Linked DNA regions of Homo sapiens: all the other regions are linked to region 5. The links are contacts of gene promoters, found by promoter capture Hi-C in blood cells and fetal thymus (Javierre and others, 2016). All regions are on one chromosome and are shown on one strand. Each heading gives the region's core, a stretch centred on a gene start or on the middle of the fragment in contact. The rest is flanking DNA. Distances are from core to core; before and after follow the strand shown. Region 1 holds the start of ZNF749 (zinc finger protein 749). Region 2 holds the start of ZNF548 (zinc finger protein 548). Region 3 holds the start of VN1R1 (vomeronasal 1 receptor 1). Region 4 holds the start of AURKC (aurora kinase C). Region 5 holds the start of ZNF324 (zinc finger protein 324). Region 6 holds the start of ZNF17 (zinc finger protein 17). Region 7 holds the start of ZNF304 (zinc finger protein 304).

Evidence for each region. Contacts are between HindIII fragments. The CHiCAGO score rates a contact against its expected background, and 5 or more counts as called.
Region 1: a contact is called between the fragment with the promoter of ZNF749 here and the fragment with the promoter of ZNF324 in region 5, in 10 of 17 cell types (neutrophils, activated CD4 T cells, naive CD8 T cells and 7 more). The highest score is 12.9, in neutrophils.
Region 2: the fragment with the promoter of ZNF548 here is called in contact with the fragment with the promoter of ZNF324 in region 5 in 9 of 17 cell types (non-activated CD4 T cells, total B cells, monocytes and 6 more); the score reaches 12.5 in non-activated CD4 T cells.
Region 3: a contact is called between the fragment with the promoter of VN1R1 here and the fragment with the promoter of ZNF324 in region 5, in 12 of 17 cell types (total CD4 T cells, fetal thymus, naive CD8 T cells and 9 more). The highest score is 16.4, in total CD4 T cells.
Region 4: the fragment with the promoter of AURKC here is called in contact with the fragment with the promoter of ZNF324 in region 5 in 4 of 17 cell types (neutrophils, naive CD8 T cells, non-activated CD4 T cells and 1 more); the score reaches 16.6 in neutrophils.
Region 6: a contact is called between the fragment with the promoter of ZNF17 here and the fragment with the promoter of ZNF324 in region 5, in 4 of 17 cell types (fetal thymus, non-activated CD4 T cells, neutrophils and 1 more). The highest score is 9.4, in fetal thymus.
Region 7: a contact is called between the fragment with the promoter of ZNF304 here and the fragment with the promoter of ZNF324 in region 5, in 1 of 17 cell types (naive CD8 T cells). The highest score is 5.3, in naive CD8 T cells.

The regions. Positions count from the first base shown.
Region 1 is chr19:57,433,742-57,436,622 of GRCh38, forward strand. It overlaps ZNF749 (zinc finger protein 749), which reads left to right and starts at 1,584. Exons shown (of 3, transcript NM_001023561.4): 1 at 1,584-1,852. The coding sequence starts at 1,838. RefSeq lists enhancers at 1,169-1,468, 2,099-2,148. The HindIII fragment of the contact is 4,352 bases long and covers 1-2,881 here.
Region 2 is chr19:57,388,258-57,391,498 of GRCh38, forward strand. It overlaps ZNF548 (zinc finger protein 548), which reads left to right and starts at 1,597. Exons shown (of 4, transcript NM_001172773.2): 1 at 1,597-1,857. The coding sequence starts at 1,843. RefSeq lists enhancers at 1,155-1,234, 1,375-1,854. The HindIII fragment of the contact is 17,908 bases long and covers 1,138-3,241 here.
Region 3 is chr19:57,455,564-57,458,491 of GRCh38, forward strand. It overlaps VN1R1 (vomeronasal 1 receptor 1), which reads right to left and starts at 1,577. Exons shown (of 1, transcript NM_020633.4): 1 at 1-1,577. The coding sequence starts at 923. The HindIII fragment of the contact is 5,648 bases long and covers 1-2,010 here.
Region 4 is chr19:57,229,442-57,232,459 of GRCh38, forward strand. AURKC (aurora kinase C) reads left to right here and starts at 1,582. Exons shown (of 7, transcript NM_001015878.2): 1 at 1,582-1,865; 2 at 2,301-2,346; 3 at 2,592-2,783. The coding sequence starts at 1,808. The HindIII fragment of the contact is 17,293 bases long and covers 1-3,018 here.
Region 5 is chr19:58,465,499-58,468,388 of GRCh38, forward strand. It overlaps ZNF324 (zinc finger protein 324), which reads left to right and starts at 1,582. Exons shown (of 4, transcript NM_014347.3): 1 at 1,582-1,685. RefSeq lists enhancers at 1,313-1,929, 1,930-2,544 and silencers at 1,572-1,621, 1,702-1,831. The HindIII fragment of the contact is 6,014 bases long and covers 1-2,890 here.
Region 6 is chr19:57,409,581-57,412,592 of GRCh38, forward strand. ZNF17 (zinc finger protein 17) reads left to right here and starts at 1,581. Exons shown (of 4, transcript NM_001330617.2): 1 at 1,581-1,826. RefSeq lists enhancers at 1,585-1,694, 1,775-1,834 and a silencer at 2,078-2,280. The HindIII fragment of the contact is 5,033 bases long and covers 1-2,755 here.
Region 7 is chr19:57,349,653-57,352,733 of GRCh38, forward strand. It overlaps ZNF304 (zinc finger protein 304), which reads left to right and starts at 1,619. Exons shown (of 3, transcript NM_020657.4): 1 at 1,619-2,045. The coding sequence starts at 2,013. RefSeq lists enhancers at 795-1,654, 1,612-1,701, 1,655-2,513, 1,852-1,921. The HindIII fragment of the contact is 5,195 bases long and covers 1-3,081 here.

The DNA.
Region 1 (2,881 bases), core at 334-2,833, 1.0 Mb before region 5:
CTTCACTAATCCTGCAGAAGAGACCATAAGGCATTATCCAAATCTTCATTTGTTGGGGGCATGGTTTTCAGGTAGTATTGCCACCACCTGATGGCAATACTATTGCTACTCAATTTTTCTCTCACTGCTACTCAATTGCAGTGAGAGAAAAATAGCTCTAAATGCCGACTTTTTGTAGTGCATTGTAAAAAGCTGAATAAAGCCAGGGACGGTGTCCTGTACCTACAGTCCCAGCTGCTCTAGAGGCTGAGGTGGGAAGATAGCTTTAGCTCAGGAGCTGAGGCCTTATCATAAGGCCTTATAAGACTACCTGGAGGCTTCATCTGCATGATATAACCTTGGTCTTCACAACCCCTTGTCTTTTTTTGTTTTTGAGACGGAGTTTCGCTCTTGTTGCACGGGCTGGAGTACAATGGCGAGATCTCGGCTCACCGTAACCTCCGCCTCCCGGGTTCAAGCGATTCTCCTGCCTCAGCCTCCCGAGTAGCTGGCATTACAGGCATGTGCCACCATGCCCGTCTAATTTTGTATTTTTAGTAGAGATGGGGTTTCTACATGTTGGTCAGGCTGGTCTCGAACTCCCAACCTCAGGTGATCCGCCCACCTCGGCCTCCCAAAGTGCTGGGATTACAGGCGTGAGATACCACGCCCGGCCCACAACCCCTTAACCCAGACAACCATTTCTACTGATTCCAGGTCTTTAGATACAAACTCTTTCAACCAATTGCCAATCGGAAAATCTTTGAACCCACCTGACCTGGAAGCCCCGCCCCTCCCTTCCAGTTGCGCCTTTCCAGAGGAATCCAATGTACATTTTACATGTATTGATTGATGTCTTACGTCTTCCTAAATTGTTAAAACCAAGCTGTAGATGGGCCACCCTGGGCATATGTTCTTAGGATATCTTGGAGCCGTGTCATGGGCCATTAGTCACTCATATTTGTCTCAGAATAAATCTCTTCAACTATTTCACAAAGTTCCACCCTTTTCGTCGACAGAAAGATATTCCTCCTTCAACTCTCCATCACATCCTGTGTGGGTCTTTTCTTTCTTGTCCCAACAGAAGCACACTAACGATCAAAAAAAAGTCTCCAGAGCCTCAGTATGTGTGTACTTGACAAGCACAAAAGAGCTGACCGCTATGAATGGAGGACCAGTTCATTATGGTCAGCCATGTCGCTTCTGATGTTCTTCCTTTCGGGACTTGCTGTGCTTCAGAGAATCTGAAACGACAGGTCTCTGAAATATTTCTCAGACTTGTCCTAGACTGCTCTCCGGGAAAATCTGGTTACTTGCAGTTTAGGAGTCAGCAAAGCCCCTCCACGTCCTTAAGAGCCCCGGAACTGCATTTCTTAACGCTCCTCCAGGAGCCTCCAGCTTTTTTCCGTAAGGTCCGCGCGCCCAGCATTGTGAGGCGAGGCAGGCAGCAGCGTGGGAACTACATTACCCAGAAGACACTGCGGGCGACACAGGCAGCAACGTGAGAACTACATTACCCAGAAGACACTGCGGGGGCAGGGCAGCGAGTGTAGCCATTGGTCTAGCAGAGAGACGACTAATGAGGTCTCAATTGTGTGGGCGGGACTTCTGGCGGCGCCCTCATGGTTGCGTTAGCATGGCTACCTAGGGATCTGTTCACTGATTTAGAGGGTCCCAGAGCTCTGGGTCGGGACTGAGGTGAAAGAGCGGAAAAACGCGAGAAGCGGTGTTCCTTCTACACAGAGGCTAGAGTGCGGATCGGCTGAGTCGGCTGCAGGCGCCCCTGCCTCCGTCAGCGTCCAGGTGACCGCCGTTCCCGCCCCGCTCTTCCCTGGGTGGACTGGAGGAGGCCGCGCCGATGAACCTGACCGAGGTGCGTGCAGCGTCCCAGGCCGCCCCGCCCAACCCCTCCTCCCAGTGCTGAAGTCCCAAGGAGCCGCCCTGCAGGTTAGGCCCTTGTGTCTCTAAGAGAGGGGCGTTCTTGTGTGGGGTGCCCGGGACTGGGACTGCGGTGCGATGAGGCGGGGGAGCTCCCGTCGGAGACCGACACGTCTCTGGGGCTTGGAGGCACTGCAGAACGGGCGGCACTGGGGAGCCCGAGCGTCTTTGTCTCCAAGGAGCAGAGGTTGAGGCGGAGTCTCCCCTGGAAGGGCAGTGGAGCCGCAGAGAGCCATAGAGGGCTGTGCAGGGAGGACGAATGGGAGGGTCACGCCCAGAGTTAGAAGTTTAAAGTTGGGGAAAACAGGATGTTGAACGGGGGCAGGGGGACCGCTGAGGAGACCCCTTGAGTTATGGTAGGGCTGGGCCAGAGGGGTTGCAGTAGAGGGGAGATGTGATGAGACTCTGGATGGATCTCAGAGATAGGGTCAACAGGATTTCCTGCTGCATCAAACATAGCTGTGAGGGAAAGTCGGTAGTGAATGGTGTCTTCCATAGGTTTTGTTTTGGCCTGAAAAATCTGAAAGAATGGAATTAGAGATATCAGCTTAAGGAGCGGGTTTCAGACAGAAGATCCTGGGTTGGATTTTGGGCGACATCACATGGGTAGGTGGACGTAATTTCCAAAGGTGAGGGAAGGTAGCTGGCCTGGAGCTTTAAATGAGTTAGAAGTTGTGCACTTGAGAAGTTGGCCTGTGGATCAGATTGAGAAGGAAGAATCCTACATCGTTTTTTCATATGGGCTGAGGTAGGGGAGGGCTCAGATTTGGAGGAAAGACCATGGTAGGGAGGGCATCTCTGATACTCCCTGCAGAAGGGAGCAGATATGGGCTAAGAGTCTGGTCTGTTTCTGTTGAAAAAGAGGCCTGGATGGATAAGGAGTTGCCCTGGAATACAGAGACTGAGGCATGAGATAATTGTAGTCACTCCACCCTTCTAACTCAGCTGGCCCTGAGGGCCACTC
Region 2 (3,241 bases), core at 347-2,846, 1.1 Mb before region 5:
CTTATCTTTTTCTCACATTACAGATCGATTTCTCTAGGGCTTCTGGTTTTTTTTCTTTTGGAATAACCTACATAATTACTAATAGATTTCGGTAATTTTTTTATTTCACAAGTGTTTTTCACATTTCGACTCCCTGTGCAAATACAGTTGTAAACACAGGTGAAATTTTAAATCACTTCTGAGGAAGAAGATAACATCATGGAATTCCACACCTTTTTTGAGGATAAGATGTGCATATGCTTCAACTATGAAAACGGTAGACAATGTTGTCCAGAAATGGCATGTATCAGCTGCTCTTGAGAAATAAAAATAAAATTCTAAGCACCCCCTAACTGACTGAATGGATGCCCTCTTGACCATGAGAACCCTAGAATAACTTTGGAAGCTGAATTCACCACTATAGAGGAACGGGAAATCAGACACACCTCATTATATCCCCTACCACACTACAATCATTAGGTTTTCTTCCCTAAGGGCTAAATAGAAATCAACCTTTTCAGAAGACTACTAGCTTATCTTCCAAGGTACAGAACAGAGAGAAGATGAGATTATTCATTCCTTCATCCTTCTCTGAGACATCTTCTTTATTCCCTTTTCCCCTCACGTGTTTACTCTATCTTATGTAAAATGTAGATTTACTGGGCACTAACTAAAGTTTCACATGTCTGTAATCATTTGTCTCACTGCCAACCCCTCTTCCTTTTTAAGGAAAATGTATAATAAATACTAAACCTCCTAAGAACCTCTTTGGAAAAACCAGCCACAGATGCTTCTGTGACTTACATTTTTCTGGATGTGCCCTTAGGCTGGTCCAGTAATCCTCCATGATTTGTGACTTATGCCTCAATCACTCATTTTGGTCGTCACTCTCATTTTCAGATAGGATTGTGATTCTTAAAATAAATGGAAAATATCTCAGATATGAAGTAGTAAGTATTATTAGAATAAAAGCGTTGCACCCTTCGTAGGAACACAATCGCTGACTCTACAGTCAGGTAAGATGTATTCTCTTTGATCCAGAGGCATAGCTTCACCCTTTCAACCTACTTCAGCGTCTCCTGTCATCCTTCCTACAAATTCCAGTCCATAGCCCTAACTGCGTAGTCTTTCTTTCTTCTTCTGGACCAAACATATTGAAGCTTACTAAACAGACGCCAAAGCGTAACTGTATGTGTATTTGAAAAGCAATAATATGGCTGGCAGGCATGAGTAGAGGCAGACTGCCTTTATGGTATGGGGTGTCTCTTTGGACCTGTAGTTATTGGGAATTAGCTGTGCTTAATAGAGTCTTAAGTAATAAGTTGCTAACATTTCTGTAAATATCCTATACTACAATCCAAAAAAATACCGTATGTTGCCTTTAAGAGCAAGCCAAGCCCCCTCCTGTCTTTGGAGTCGGGGACTCCGTTTCCCAGCTCCCCTGACAGTGCCACTGGGCCTTTATCTGCCATATAAGGACTGATCAACGCTCTAAGACAAGTCCGGAAGCGGTGTCGAAACTTCATAACCCAGAAGACACTGCAGCTCTCGGCGGCACGACTTACCCAATAAAGGCTTAGAAGGGGACGTTTGCGTGCGTGCGCACCGTCGGAGGGCGGGACTTCCGCCGTCCTCCTGGTGGTGGTCGTTTTGGTTCTGTGTGGTGTTTCACCAACTTCGGCCTATGGCTCTGTCTGACGTCACCGAAGTGACGGAACGGAAAAGCGCGAGAAGCGGCTCGGTTCCCACCACGGAGAGGCGGGAGTGAGTCAACTGACAAGCGCTGGGGACAGTGGCGTCCTTGTCTTGCCTTTGTCGCTCCCGCCCCGCTCTTCCCTGGCTGGGCTGGCGGAGGCCTTGCTGATGAACCTGACTGAGGTGGGTGTCCCGTCCCAGGCTCCCCCGCCCGACCGGTCCTCCCAGTGCTGAAGCCCCCTGAAGGGGCCCTGCAGGTCAGGCCCCTTGTCCCGAAGAGAGGGGCGTTCCTGTGTGGGGTCCCCGTATCAGCCGATTTGATGCAGCCTCAGAGCTCCCGTTAGGGACCTCAGGTTCAGAGCATGGAGGCGCTGCCGAGTGGGCTGTGTTGGGGCGTCAGGGGTGTGTGTTGTTTCTGCGGGAAAGAGAGGGTTTTGTGAATTCTCGCTTGGAATGGCAACCTGAGCAGCCAGTAACCATGGAAGGTTGTCAAGGGAGGGACAGTTGGAGGGGGCAGGTCCAGAGTTCGAAGTTTCAAGTTAGGAAAACCAGGTTAGGAATGGACACAGGGAGACGCGAAAAGGCCCTGAGGCCACTGCAGTAGACCCAGGAGAATTATGGTTGGGGCTGGACCAGTGACAGTAGAGGGAGATGTGATGAGATTCTTCATAGGCCTGAAAGATAGGGCCCGTAGGTTTTCCTGGTGCTTCAGTTATGTCTGAACAAAGGCAGTGAAGAACCGTTTCAAGTGTTTGTTTTGTTTTTTGTTTTCTGTTTGAACGTTTGGAAGAATGGAGTTGGGGAAGTCAGCATAAAGAGCAGATTTCCGGGAGAAGATCACAGGTTGGATTTTGGACATGGTGATTCTCAAATGTCTCAAGATGGATATGTCACACAGACAGGTGGACATAAAGGTGTGGAGTCTGAGGAAGGGGATTGGGTTGGCGATACCAGACGGATGGAGGGCTTGGACTGGGCCAGAGAATGGTCTGAGGATCAGATTGAGTAGGTCGGTCTCGGGTTTTTTTTGTTTGTTTGTTTGCATAAATTTAAGGAGTCAAGTGCAGTTTTGTTATATGGATATATTTGCATAGTGGTCAAGTCTGGGCTTTTAATGTATCCATCGCCTGAATAATGTACATTGTATCCATTAAGTAATTTTTCATCACTCATCTTCGTCTCATCCTTCTACCTGTTTGGAGTCTCCAATGTTTGTCATTCCACACTCTTTGTCCATGTGTACACATTATTCAGCTTCCACTTGTAAGTGAGAACATTTGGTATTTGACTTTCTGTTTCTGAGTTGTTTCATTTAATAATGGCCTCCAGTTCCATCCACATTGCTGTAAAAGACATAGTTTCATGCTTTTTTTTTTTTTTGTGGCCTAGTGGTATTACCTTGTGTATATATATGCCACATTTTCTTTACCCAGTCATACATTGATGGATAATTGGTTAATTCCCTATCTTTGCTATTGTGAATAGTGCTGTGATAAAAATACATGTTTTTTTTAATGTAATGATTTATTTTCCTTTGGGTAGATGCCCAGTAGTGGAATTGGTGGAT
Region 3 (2,928 bases), core at 327-2,826, 1.0 Mb before region 5:
GTCACTATCCACTGGCCTGGGTTTGCAACTACAGTTGTCCAAATTGTCAGAAAACTATGGACTGAATAGAAAACAAAAAAGGAGCTCACCAGGACCATGATGGTGTGTGTGGCTCTGGCTTCCTGGGAAGGTCTGCAGGAGAGTCTGTTGCTGTGATTGTGTTGGACTTGCTGCTTGTGTCTGTAGAGGAAGAAGACCATGGAGCCACTGGCCCAGACCATGAAGCCCAAACTCATAAAATCAGGGGAAAAATATAAGACTGCATGTAATGAGCTAAATCTCTTTGATGCTTTGTAAGAACAGTATCCATAATTGTTTTTTGCACTACTGTTTTTGCTATTCAGTGGGCCATTCACTAATAGAAGAACAGATGCATTCATCAAGACATGGGGGGCCCAGCAGAGGAGACAACAGAAGTCAATAAACCTTGGGGATCTAATCTTGATCTCCATCCACCTGCATATACTGGGGTTGAGCTTAATGGCTTGGAATCCATTGAGAAGGCAGATGGTGCTGAGGGAAACTCTTGTGCCCACCCTGTGATAATAAAAGACAAACTTACATCCAGTGTCATTCAGCAAATATTTCAATCCAAAAGCTGCCATTGTCTGAGGTATCCCTTTAAAGAAAAGGACCATGGAGTTAGCCAAGGCCAGTTGGCTGAGAATCAAGTCCGTGGGTCTCAGCTTGTGTCCAGTGAACAAAATTAAGTTATAAAAACAAAGGAGAAAGGAATTTCCCAGGATCCCAACTCCAGTCTGAATGAGGAAGCTAATCCCTGATTTTACTTTTCCAAAAGCCATTTCATCAAAATCTAGGGGATGTTGATTTTCATTGAGGTCTGAAGAATCAGTAGAATAAAAAAGCAGAAAGAAGTATCTTGTCATCAGTGGAGACAGAAGTTTTAATGTGTCTCCAACCATATTTTCTCATCTTAAACAGAAATTAAGATTGTCCCTGTTCGTGCAAAGGCAATTGCTTGTGTGTCCAACTGCAGAGAAGCAGGTGAATGAATGAGGGCTCAACCGCACAACAGATCCACAAATCAAACCTATAAAACTCAGGGCTTACACACATGCAACAAGTAAATACAAGCAAAACTAGGGAAATATATAAAAACAGAACACAGAAGAGTCAATATCATTAGAGTGATATTATACTATAGTTTGCAAAATGTAATCATGACGGAACCCTGGGTAATATGGACAGGGCTTTTTCTGTATTATTTCTTATGACTGCTTGTGAGTCTACACTTATTTCAATAAAACCTTCAATTAAGTAGCCTGGAGATATGAAAAGCAAAAATAATACACCATAAAACCTTTTCCACACTAATATTTTAGTAAACACCATTGTTATTGATGCATTGAAACAAATTTTAGGCCGGGTGCAGTGGCTCACACCTGTAATTCCAGCACTTCGGGAGGCCAAGATGGAGACCATCCTGGCCAACATGGTGAAACCCTGTCTCTACTAATAATACAAAATACTAATAATACAAAAATTAGCCGGGCATGGCGGCGCGTGCTAGTCCCAGCTACTCGGGAGGCTGAGGCAGGAGAATCGCTTGAACCTGGGAGGCAGAGGTTGCAGTGAGCTGAAATCAAACCATTGCCCTCCAGCCTGGGCGACAGAGCGAGACTCTGTCTCAAAAAAAAAAAAAAAAGAAATTAAAAAAACGCTACAATACAATTGGTAACAAGGCCTTCAGCACAGTACAAATGCTAACTTGAAGAATTTTTAAAAACTATAATTTTTGGAACAATCAACATTGCATCATGGTATATTTTATTTTAAGCACATATATTTCTGTTATTTTCCACCGGACAGGTCTAGAGATTGTGAATTGACTCCGTAGAAATAACCATGACCACCTTGAGCCCACACATTTTTATCTCAATGCCATTTCTCACAAGTAAATGCAAAAGATCCTGAAAATAAATACTAATCCCAGAAACACCTAAGATATCCTTAAAACTTGTTAAATAGGAAATTCAATATGTTCCAGAAAGCTTGGGTTTATTTTTAGGGAAAGATAATTCAATTGGGAGGGAATTTCATTGCACAATATTCATATATATCAATCACAAAAGAAATAGTAACTGCGGCCAGGCACGGTGGCTCACGCTTGTAATCTCAGCACTTTGGGAGGCTGAGGCGGGTGGATTACAAGGTCAGGAGATGGAGACCATCCTGGCCAACATGGTGAAACCCCGTCTCTACTAAAAATACAAAAATTAGCTGGGTGTTGTGGTGCGTGCCTGTAGTCCCAGCTACTCGGGAGGCTGAAGCCTCCTGGGTTCACGCCATTCTCCTGCCTCAGCCTCCTGAGTAGCTGGGACTACAGGCGCCCACCACCACGCCCGGCTAGTGTGTGTGTGTGTGTGTGTGTGTGTGTGTGTGTGTTTAGTAGAGACGGGGTTGCACCGTGTTAGCCAGGATGGTCTCGATCTCCTGACCTCGTGATCCGCCCGCCTCGGCCTCCCAAAGTGCTGGGATTACAGGGATGAGCCACCTCGCCCGGCCATAATTTAGATTCTTTTGGTGTCTCTATGGAATTGCTATCATCAGGGAAAATTATGAGGTATTTTCTCCCATGAATAACTACATCTCTTTAGGGGTGGAGCAATCAATAACACAGCAGTATCAAGATTCTCAGGCGAGAGGTGGCTCACGCCTGTAATCCCAGCAGTTTGGGAGGCCGAGGCTGGTGGATCAGCTGAGGTCGGGAGTTCGAGACCAGCCTGACCAACAGGGAGAAACCCCGTCTCTACTAAAAATACAAAAATTAGTCAGAGGTGGTGGCGCATGCCTGTAATCCCAGCTACTCGGGAGGCTGAGGCAGGAGAATCGTTTGAACCCCAGAGGCGGAGGTTGCAGTGAGCCGAGATCATGCCATTGCACTCCAGCCTGAGCAACAAGAGTGAA
Region 4 (3,018 bases), core at 332-2,831, 1.2 Mb before region 5:
AGAACAGGATGACGTTGTAGTGGGGGCTGTTTTAAATTGACAGTTTGGAGCTGGGCGCAGTGGCTCACACCTGTGATCCCAGTATTTTGGGAAGCCGAGGCGAGTGGATCACCTGAGGTCAGGAGTTCGAGACCAGCCTGGCCAACATGGTGAAACCCTGTCTCTACTAAAAATACAAAAATTAGCCGGGCATGGTGGCAGGTGCCTGTAATCCCAGCTACTCAGGAGGCTGAGGCAGGAGAAATGTTTGAACCTAGGAGGCGGAGGTTGCATGAGCTGAGTTCGAGCCACTGCACTCCAGCCTGGGTGACAGAGCAAGACTCCGTCTCAATAAACAAACAAACAGACAGGTTTGGGAAAGCCTCTGAGAAAGGAATGGTTGGCCTGAGCTAAGCGCCATTACCCTGATCCACCTATTGTAACCACCTAATGGGTTCATTATTTTCCCTGCTCCCCAGATAGAGTCGACTTATCAAGACAGGATAATTGCAATAAAGGGTTTAATTCACATCAATCGAGCTAAATGAGAGACCAGAGTTTTATTACTCAAATAGGTCTCCCCAAATATTTTGAGACGAGCTTTTTTGTTTTTGGGTTTTTTTGTTTTTGTTTTTGTTTTTTTTGAGACAGAGTCTCGTTCTCCTTCTGTCGCCCAGGCTGGAGTGCAGTGGCATGATCTTGGCTCACTGCAACCTCCGCCTCCAGGGTTCAAGCGATTCTCTTGCCTCAGCCTTTTGAGTAGGTGGGATTACAGGCATGCGCCACCACACCCGGCTAATTTTTGTAGTAGAAACGGGGTTTCGCCCTGTTGGCCAGGCTGGTCTCGAACTGCCTACCTCAGGTGATCCGCCCGCCTCGGCCTCCCAAAGTGCTGGGATTACAGGCATGAGCCATCACGCCAGGCCTTCAATTATATTTCTGCAAGATATGTTCCCTGTCTAAAAGAATTCAATTTTTAATGTTTTTGAAACTTATGTGTTTGCTAAACAAATACGTGGGGGCTGATTTTACGATCTGAGGCCAAATCCACAAACTGATTACAGGGTCCAACAAATATTTGGCGAGTGGGAGGAGAGGGGTAAGTGAGCTGGACTGGTGGCGTCCTGGCTGTGAGCAGGCACAGCCGCAGGCTTCAGGGAGCCCCATCGCGGTGACCCTGGAGAGTGGCCTGAATCGGACGTGACCTTGAAGCAAGGTGGTTTTGGGGTCGCCGGCTGCACAAGGCGCGAAGTGGTTTAGGGTCACGGGCTGCACGAGGCTCCAGCACGTCAGGAGTGGGCGTCTGTTCATTCCCACGTGCATCGCGGCTCTCTCCTAGTTGACGCATGCACACCCCGTGGGTGTATGCGTTGTTCATTCCCACAACGGCCATCACCACCTCTCCGCACCCTCTGTCTCCTTCCTTCTCGGGCCTCACCCCTGGCCCTCGCTTTCAGTGCCCAGCCCGGACCGCAGCACTCCAGTTCCGCCCCAACCCGGGAACCCTGGACTGAGGCTCCCGTTTCTGTCCTTTCTATTGGGCGCACTTCCGATGGCGTCAGGAATTTCAGCCAATAGGAGCCAGCCAGGAAGTACCTCTCTGAGCGGTTGGTGCCGGGTATAAAAGAAGGCCGCGCAGCCACGGCTGCTCACGACGCCGCGGATCCCGAAGCCTGTGTAGCAGTGAGACATCAGTGAGGCTGCAGGACGAGCAGGATTGGAAGCGCCCCGGCCAGAAAGTGACCCCCCACCCCTTTCAGGACCCTGTGAACGGGAACAGCCATCCAGAGGGTTCAGGAAGGCGTCCGCGCCCTCACCTCTTCTCCCCATGAGCTCCCCCAGAGCTGTGGTGCAGCTGGGCAAAGCTCAACCTGCAGGCGAAGAGTGTGAGAGCCAGCGCCAGAGAAAGGACGCAGGGAAGGCTGGGGACTGGGCCAGGGGTCGGGTGCACAGAAGACACATGTGTTGACATCTCCCCTCCCTCTCCTCCTCCCCAACGCTCTTCTTTTCTCCCCACTCCCTCCCTTCCCTCCAATTCTTTCTTTCACCTCTCCCTCCCCTACTCTCTCCTCCCCTTCCTTTCTCTCTGCCTCTTCTTCACCTCCTCCTCCCCTCCCTACCTTACCTTACTCTTTCTTCTTCCCCTTACCTCTCCCTCCCCCTCTCCCTGCCTTCCCCTTCCCTCTCTTTCTCTCCTCCCCTTCTTCCCCTCACCTCTCGCTCCCTATTCCCTTCTCTACTGTTCTCCTCTCCTCTCTTTCTCTCCCCTTCTCCTTCCCTCCCCTCTCCCTTCCTATCTCCCTCCTCCTCCTCTCTTTCAGTGGCTACAGCAAACCAAACAGCCCAGCAGCCCAGCAGCCCAGCCATGTGAGTCCCTTGGGATTGGTATCTGGAAAAGGAAGGAAGGTGGGACGTGGGGATGAAGAACAGACTGGGTGTGTGGGGTGCTGGCTCCTGGGAACGAGAACTACTGATAGGGCTGGGTCTGTGTGAGAAGGGAAAGCGGCAGAGGAAGGATACAATGAAAGAGGAAGGGGAGCATTGGCATCCCTGACTTTCCCTCCGCCTACCCTACCTCCCAAGCTGAGGCTTTTTTCTTCCTCTCCTGTCAGGCGGCGCCTCACAGTCGATGACTTTGAAATCGGGCGTCCCCTGGGCAAGGGGAAATTTGGGAATGTGTACCTGGCTCGGCTCAAGGAAAGCCATTTCATTGTGGCCCTGAAGGTTCTCTTCAAGTCGCAGATAGAGAAGGAAGGACTGGAGCACCAGCTGCGCCGGGAAATTGAGATCCAGGCTCATCTACAGTAAGGACAGTCTCTGCTTCCTCTTTCATCTTTGACGTCTGAGCCCAGCATTTTCCCCAAATACTAACCCCAAGTAAACCCTGCACTTGTACCTTGAAGACTTCTCTGCAGTTCATTCCATTTACACTACCTCCTACCCTGGGTCAGACACTCGAATCCTGGTTCCTGTTCTCCGTTCTCCCCTCACTTGCTCCCAGATAGGGCTGTTGTTATTCTGGTCCCAGCATAATTTGCC
Region 5 (2,890 bases), core at 332-2,831:
CTGGAGTGCAGGGGCTCCATCATAGCTCACTGCACACTCCAACTCCTGAACTCAATCCTCCCACCTCAGCCTCCCATGTAGCTGGTATTACAGGCATGCAAGACCATGCTCAGCTAATTTTTATATTTTTTTATAAAGATGGGGTCACATTTTGTTGCTCAGGCTGGTCTCAAACTCCTAGGCTCCAGTGATCGCTCACCTTGGCCACCCAAAGTGCTCAGATTCCAGGTGTGAGCCACTGCGCCCAGTCCTGAAATGTTCTTAAATTCTTTCAAAGTAGCAAAATTTATATTAAAACATTCCAAACATGATGAGCTCCCTTGCTCTACAAGGATTTACAAGTAGAATCAATTAGGTGGACAGTTATAGCTGACAGTTGACAGAGAGATAGTTATAGATGGAGGTAGGTATAGAGGGAGGGAGGCAAAAAGAGTTAAGGAACTGGACAGCTGAGAACTGTCTACAGGTTCCAAAAACAAGACAAAGAACCTTTTATTATCTGCCAAACAAGACAGTCTACATTGAGACTGCTCTGCCTTTCGTTTTTATGTGTCAAAGACACTTAAATTGGCCTGTAATCCCAGCACTTTGGGAGAACGAGGTGGGCGGATCACCTGAGGTCAGGAGTTCAAGACCAGCCTGGCCAACATGGTGAAACTCCATCTCTACTAAAAAATACAAAAATTAGCCAGGCATGGTGGCGCACACCTGTGGTCCCAGCTACTACGGAGGCTGAGGCGGGGGGATCACTTGAACCTGAAGGCAGAGGTTGCAGTGAGCCGAGATTGTGCCACTGCACTCCAGCACGGGCAACAGAACAAAGACCCTGTTAAAAAAAAAAAAAAAAAACTTAAATGAGTCCCAAGAAAAAAGGAAAAAAGAATGAATATTGTGATGTGTGGGGCAAGACAAGATCTAGATGGTCTAAGGACAAGCAAATCTGGGGAATTAACTTCTGCCCATCCAAATTACAAGGAAAACAGATGCTTTGGGCAAGTGTCGAGGAACAGTCTCATACTTAAGACAAATGTAGGCTTACGGGCTGAGAATTCTTGGTGTAAAGGTTGAAAACGGACCTTAAACCTTTACGGGACATTGACACAGAGAGGTCAAACCCGCGCCCAGGACGCACAGTCAGTGAGAGGCAGAGCTGGGAAGGGAACCCGGAGCTCCAGGCATCGGCTCCTCCACCTCCACCTGCGCTACCCGGTGCATTTTCTCCTCCGTGCTCACTGCTGGTGTTGCCTCTTGGAACCTCGGCAGTTTCTGCTTTCGCACCTGCAGGGTTTAGTCTCCGGGACTGCTTGGGAGGACACCTGGAATGCCGAAGGCAGGACTACACACCGGGCGAATCCACCAGCGCCACCAAGCCCTTGAAAACCCGAGGCCGCCGCGCGACTCCATTTCCCAGCGCCCCGCGCGGCAGGGGCTTGGACGTTGCCAAGGAGACCGGTAGTGGCCCCGCCTCCACGCAGGGAAACAGGCGGGAACCACGTGACCCGGAAGGCTGTACGCAAGCGTCCGCGGCGCGCACTGGGCCAATGAGAACCGAAGGGCTGGACTTCCGGCGGTGGGACTGTCACTTCGCCGCCCGCGTCAGGCCACACCGGTGGTCTGGGCTGGGGACCGCGGGTCGGGTCCGGTTTCCAGGGGGTTCCTGGTGCTCGAGGCTGGCGGCGAGGAAGGTACTGGCTGAGGGCCCGCGTCGGGCCCGCCCTGCGCACGCGTCGTGATCAAGGGCGCCGGCCGCCGGCCGCGCCCCCAAGCCTCTGTTTCTCAGAGTGCGTCGTGGGCGTCCAGGGGACTGTCGGGCCGCGGCGGGAGCCATGCGCTCTCCCACCGTGCGGCAGCCCAGGAGGCTGCGCGCTGGGCGTTCCACGTCCATGATGGCCGGGGAGACTGAGGCGCGGGGCGGCCCCGGGACGCTGCTGGCGGGGAAAGGCTGGGTGGTCCACGCCTTTCTTCCCTCCCAGCTGCGGGTTCCGCTGGCGGCGGTGGCGCTGACAAGCCCGCGTCGGGGAAGCAGGGGAGTCCCTGCTCACACAGACCGCGCCCTCACGGAGGGAGGCCGCTTCCTAGACCTCGCCTAGTCGTCTTTCCTCTCCCTGCCCTGGGGGGGTTGCGGGGGTCAGTGCAAACTCCTGCGTCCAGGGCACTGGTGAGCTCCCGAGTTCGGGCAGCCAGGGGGCTGAGGTCCCGAAGGAGGCTCCGAGGGGAGAGTCCTGCGTGTGCAAAACCTGGGAGGGGAGCCGAAGCCCAGGTGCTTCTGGGACTGAGCTCTCTCGATGTGGAGCTGGAGTAGAGGGGATGTGTGCGGCTGCAGTATCAGGCGAGGGAGTGGGCTTTATCTCGAGGGCGTCGGGAGACATAGAAGTTTTGAACAGAATCAGGACATCCTCTGAGGACTTTAAAACGGTTCCACCGTTTGTTGCGTGGAGAACAGACATGCAGGGGTGTCGGCATGAAGGGAAGAACCGACTGCCACAGTCTGGGCAGCAGTGGAGGTGGGCGACCAGGTGAATTCTGGTGGATCTGCGGATGCATCAGGTGTGGGCTGTTTGAAGAACTAAGTACCCCATGTTGTTCAGCCTGAGCGCCTGGAAGAAGAGAGCTGCTGTAGATAGAAAGGAGAATTGAAAGGAAAGCAGGTTTCCTTCAGGGGAAAGATCAAGAGTCTGGGATGTCCCAGGTTGGTCATGTCACTGGACCTGACGTTGTTGGCGTCCTGGGCTGTGGACAGGGCCTATGAATTGGACTGAGGAATGGGCAGGGACTCAGCCAGGTGTGGGCAGTTATGGCTTGAGGGTAAAGAAGACCAGCTGGGATGCCTGGGGCTATTGGGAAGAGCCTAGCACCTAACTGAGGAGGGGAGGGTGGCAACAGAGAGGGG
Region 6 (3,012 bases), core at 331-2,830, 1.1 Mb before region 5:
GTAATTTGATAAACCAAATTTCAAGACTTTGGCCAAAAAACAGTCTTCTCCTTTACTGAATATCTCAGTGCTCCATTTTATTTTTCCCTCACCAATTCTGCAGGAGAGATCACAAGACTATGTCCATATCTTTATTTGTGGGGGTATGATTTTCAGCTAACATAGCTGCTAAGTGATTTAATTTACAATTATAGTGGTAGAAAAATAGCTCTAACTTCTGAGGTTTTGTAATTTATTGTAAAAAGCGGAATACAGGACATTTAAAGTGACCTGACAAGGTCAATACAGGACTGAGGACTAATTCATTAAATACGTCTTACGTGTCTTAGAGGACCACAGACAGCTAGCAACCCTACTCCTAATGTGTCCCATGCACTTAGTATTGTACCTGGCATCGAATGAGTGTTCATCAAATATGTTAGAGTAATAAATACGACAGCACAGTTTCCCTATTCAGCTTTACTTTTCTGGTAACTCTTTTAATATATAGTCTTTACCTCTCCCTTCAAGCTGTTAATGCACAATGTTTTCAAGTTTGAAAAAGAATCAGATTTTGGACACCAAACTTGAGTGTGTCCAAGGTTCCAGGACAACCTTAGCTTTTTTCCTCCTATCACAAATATGTTTCTCTATAACTATTTTTGCCACTTTCTTTGGATATCTACATAATCGTCATTAATAGTTTCAGTAATAGCCATTTCACAAGAGTTATTCAGAGACAATTTCAACTCCCTGTGCAGACACTGTTGATACAATTTCAGGCGAAATGATAAATCACTTTCCACTAATGAGATGAGATCATGCATTCCCAAACCTTTATCTCAGGAGTAAGATGCTTTCTTTGCACAAGGGCTTTGACTGGTGGAAGGCCACACTATTCTGGCAGATAATGGTAGATAAGTCGCTTTTCCTTTTCAGTTAGGTTTCAGTCTCTTAAAATAAGTGGAAAATATCTCAGATATAAAGTAATAAGTATCATGTGAATAAAGTGTTGCTGGGTAGGCTGAAAGACAATAACTGATTATTCAGAAAGGAAAGATATTACTCCTCAAACTCCCCATCATGCCATGTCTGGGTCTTTTCAATGTGCCCAGCAGAGCACATTGAAGATCATAAAACAGTCTCCAGAGCTTCGTTCTGTGTGTATTTGGCAAGCACAAAAGAGCTGACCGCTATGCGTGGAAGACCAGTTCTTTATGGTTGGCCATGTTCCTTCGGATGTTCGTCTTTTGGGAACTTGCTGTGCTTTACAGAATCTGAAAGGACAGGTCTCTGAAACATTTCTCTGACTTGTTCTAGACTGCCTTCCGGGAAAATCTGGATGCTTGCCGTTTAAAAGCCAATGAAGCCCCTCCACGTCCTTGGAGCCCCGCAACTGCATTTCTCAAAGCCTCAGGAGGATCCTCCTGGCTTTCATCCTGAACGCGAGTTAACTTAAGTTCAGAAGCGGGGCAGGCAGTGGCCTGGGAACTACATTACCCAAAAGACACAGCGGCGGACACAAGCAGCGAGTGTAGCCAATGAAGGCCTAGCAGAGCGGCGTCTACGGGGGTTCGCAATGCGTGTGGGCGGGACTTCCTGCAACGCCTCCTGGGGTTGTCAATATGGCTGCGTTGGGATCTGTTCACCTTCAGGCTGAGTCGAGACTGAGGTGAAAAAGCGGAAAAACGCGAGAAAAGGTTTCCCCGTTGTACAGAGGCTAGAGTGAGGCTCGGTTGAATCGGTTGCAGGCGTTGGTGCCTCTGTCAGCGTCCAGGTCACTGCCGCTCCCGCCCCGCTCTTCCCTGGCTGTGCTGGCGGAGGCTGCGCCGATGAACCTGACTGAGGTGGGTGCCGCGTCCCAGGGCGCCCCGCCCGATCCCTCCTCCGAGTGCCGAAGCCCCGAGGAGGGGCCCTGCAGGTCAGGCCCCTGTGTCCCAAAGAGAGGAGCGTTCTTGTGTGGGGTACCGGTGTCCGCGGTGCTGTGAGGCGGGGGAGCTCCTGTCAGGGACCTGCACGTGCGAGGCTTAGAGGTGCTGCAGAGCGGGCGGCACTGGGGAGCCCGAGCGTCTTTGTCTCCACGGAGCTGAGGGTGAGGCGGAGTCTCGCCTGGGAGGGCAGCGGAGCTGCTGAAAGCCGTAGAAGGCTGTGCAGGAAGGGTTATGCCCAGAGGTAGACGTTTAAAGTTGGGAAAAACAGGATGTTAAACCAGGACAAGGGGACCGCTGAGGAGACCCCTTGAGTTATGGTAGGGATGGGCCAGAGGGGTTGCAGTAGAGGGGAAGTGTGATGAGATTCTGGATGGATCTCAGAGATAGAGTCGACAGGATTTCCTGCTGCATCAAATGTAGCAGTGAGGGTAGTGAAGGGTCTATTCCATGGATTTTGTTTTGGCCTGAAAATCTGAAAGAATGGAGTTGGAGAAGTCAGCTTAGGGAGCAGGTTTCAGAGAGGATTATGAGTTGCATTTTGGAGGGCTGAGTTTTGGAGGGCAGATCATGGGTGGGTCCATAAGCCTGACGCTACCTTTAGAAAGGCGCAGACCTGTCATAGGAGGGATTCTGGCTCATATCTGCAAAAACGGAGTTCTGAATGGGTTAAGGAACTGGCCTAGGCTGGAGACTGAGGTGTGAGGTGGTTTAGATTTCTGCACCTGCAGACCCAGCAGCCCCCCAGGCCCACTCTGTGGAACAATAGGAAGGTCATCCAGACTAGTGGGGACATTGGGTCCAGACGGGGGTAGGGCTTTCTCACATCTAGTCAAGGGCCTCCAGCAAGCTTCCAGCAACTGAATTTGTAGCAGGCAGGCCTGGTTGCTGATGGGACCAGTAACTGACCTGCTTGCTTATCCCCTCCCTGCAACTTATTTATTTATGAATGTGTAAAACATTTTTTTTTTTTTTGAGACAGAGTCTCGCTCCATCGCCCAGGTTGGAGTGCAGTGGCGCGATCTCGGCTCACTGCAAGCTCCGCCTCCCGAGTTCAAGCAATTCTCCTGCCTCAGCCTCCCGAGTAGCTGGGACTACAAGTGCC
Region 7 (3,081 bases), core at 369-2,868, 1.1 Mb before region 5:
TAAAATAAACCAGGTTATAAAATTTTAACTACAGTGACTCTTAAGTGGACAGTGGAGTTAAAAATTATGAAGAGCAATTAGTCTTGATAGTTCTGTGTTTTGAATCATACAGCCTATAAGAATGTGTCTTCTGGACGATAGACCTACCTGTAGTTTATGAAACCCTCTTGCATGTGATTTTTTTCAATTAAATGAGTCTATTGATATATTGGTGTGCTTTTGTGCAAAAATTATAACCATTAGGGGCTCCCACCTGTAATCCCAGCACTTTGGAAGACTGAGGCAGTTGGATCACCTGAGGTCAGGAGTTCGAGACCAGCCTGACCAACACGGAGAAACCCCATCTCTACTAAAAATACAAAATTAGCCGGGCATGGTGGCGGATGCTTGTAATCCCAGCTACTCGGGAGGCCGAGGCAGGAGAATCGCTTGAACCTGGGAGGGAGAGGTTGCAGTGAGCTGAGATCGTGCCATTGCACTTAAGCCTGGGCAACAAGAGTGAAACTCTGTCTCAAAAAAAAATTATAACTATTATCTATGATGCTATTTGATGAGTGAGGGAATAATTGTACTTTTTTCTTTTTTTTTCAAAATCACACTGATCCTGAAAAGGTGGATCTTTGATTTATCTTCCTAAAGCAGTGTATGTGAGAACCTTGTGTTGAGGAAGACTGATAACAGCTTGTATGTATTTAGCACGATGTGCCAGGCCTGGTGTTAAGTACTTTTTACCTCACTTCCCATATTCCTAATGAGGTTGGTTGTAGTGTTTTTCATCTTACTGATTTTTTTTTGTTTGTTTTTGTTTTGTTTTGTTTTTGGCTAATGACTTTAAAAGACCTCCAGTTCTTGAACTTCAGCTAGGGTCCCATCCCCAGAGTTTATCAGAAGGTATAGGTTGGGTCCAAGAATTCACAGGTTTTTTAAGTTCATAGTGAAGCTGATGCTGTAAAACTACATATCAAATTGGGAAGCAATGAATTAGAAGAGGCTCATGTTTTCGTCATGTTACATGTAAGTTCCTCCTTCACTTTTCGCCATGAATAAAAGTTCCCTGTGGCCTCACCAGAAGCAGATACGGGCACCATGCTTCCTGTACAGCCAGCAGAAAGGTAGCTAATTACATCTCTTTTCTTTATATGTTAGAAAAATTAGAAGGACATTCAATGTTTTACAAAAAGGCCCACAAACGAAATACAGACAACGTTCAATTTATTAATACGTTTCAATCCCCAAATCTGAGAGAGGTGAAGCAGGTTTCCCAGGGCCTCAGAAGCAGGATTGAAGAATGGGTCCCTTGCTGGCGACTTCAGTGGCGTGGCATTGTCCCAGGTGGCCATGGAAATCAGGGTGCATACCCTTTAAAAGCAGCTGTGGCCTCCGAGATATCGTTTTCCCAGTCTTTTCTCCCCCTCCCTGCACGACGCCTCTTGGCAGACATCCGGGAGAACCCGAAAGGCGCTCGTTGCCTGGTTGGATGCAGGGTACAAACTACGTTACCCAGAAATCTGTGCCCAGCTCATTGTTAGCCGGCGTGCAGCCAATGACAGCCCAGAAACTGGGCGTTTCCTGCTGCTCTGGGCTGCAGGGGCGAGACTTCTGGCGTCGCCGTCGTGACGTATTTTTCCTATGCCCGGTCCGTGCATTCTGGTTGTGAAGGCTGAGTTCTAGAGATCGGGTCGGCTTTCTACGCGGCTCTCGTGGAACCTAGCAAAGAAAGACAGTGAAGACTGCAGGACCTTCCTTCGCGCTTTTGTTACAATCCATGACCCCTGTCGTGGGACGGGCGGCCTCTCGCGGAGGTGTCTGCCGGGGCTGGGCTCTTACCGAGGCCTCCACACACGTCCTCTTGTCCTTGTCTCCCCCAGAAGCAGCCGCCTTAGTCTTGTGAGCGTTTTTACACCGGGTAGATTGAGACTTGGAGTGCTACACTCAGCCCGAGGGCGTCCAGCGCGGTGGAGGCGTGGGGTTTCGGCTGAGCCCACAGGGCACAGACTGTTCATCCGCTTCTCATGGCAGCGGCGGTGCTGATGGACCGGGTTCAGGTGAGTGGGGGCATCCCTCAAGCGCACCCCGGCCTGGTTGGTGTGTCCTGGGATGTTCGCTCTCATCGCGCACTTCAGGGTGCTCACTCCGTCGCATTATGTGGAGGGGTTCCGCTCCCCTCATCAGTGGCATAAGGTGTGGAACGGACTCGAAGGCGCAGGGGCAGTTCGTACAAATGCATGCATGGAGAGGAGAATGAGTTTGGGGAGTTCCGGGAACTCTCTGTGCCTGGTGAGAACAGGGACTAGGGGGTCAGAGGTAGGCCTGGAATGGCCGCCCGAGGAGCTGGTCCTCTCTTCTGAGGGTGCTGGGAGTCATGCAAGGTTTGGTACAGAGAAGGGAGGTCCTCTGACGCAGTTCTTAAAAGGCTCCCTCTGGCTGCAGAGTGGGTAGACTAGGGATTATAGGGTAGACGGGGAGATCAAGATGAAGTCTACTGAAATAGTCCAGGTGAGCGTTGATGGTCTGGGCCAGAGTGGTGGCAGCAGAGGTTAGAGAATGTATGGGTTTTGGGTTTTGTATGTATTTTATAAGGAAGGCTGACCAGATTCTCTGATGAGACATAGTGATGATATCCTGGGATTCTTCACATGACTGTCTTCACTTGAGACAGGGGGCAGTGAATGGAGGTCATTTCTAGTTTAGTGTCCTGAATCCAGGCCATGAGTTGTATGGAGTTATGTGGAGAAGTCCCCACCTGGCGACCAATGGGATGAGTACTGCAAAAGTATATCAGACCTAGGAACAGGTACGCTCAAATGCTTGTAGGATTGAGTTTGGAGCGCTCAGGGAATCTCAGGTCTTAATTACCTTTGTTGGAAACAGGTATCAGAGGAAGGAGTTAGGCAGGAATGGCTGGCCGAGGTGTCTTGAGTGTGGTAAAAGTCGTGGGAGATTTGGAGCAGAGGAGGGAGATGATCTGACTCAGATTTTAACATGCTCTCTCTGGCTTTCAGGTTGAGAACAGACTGTGAGCATGAGGGAGCAGCTACTGCAGTAGTGTTGATGGTGTCTGGTCTAGAGGTGTGGCTGTGG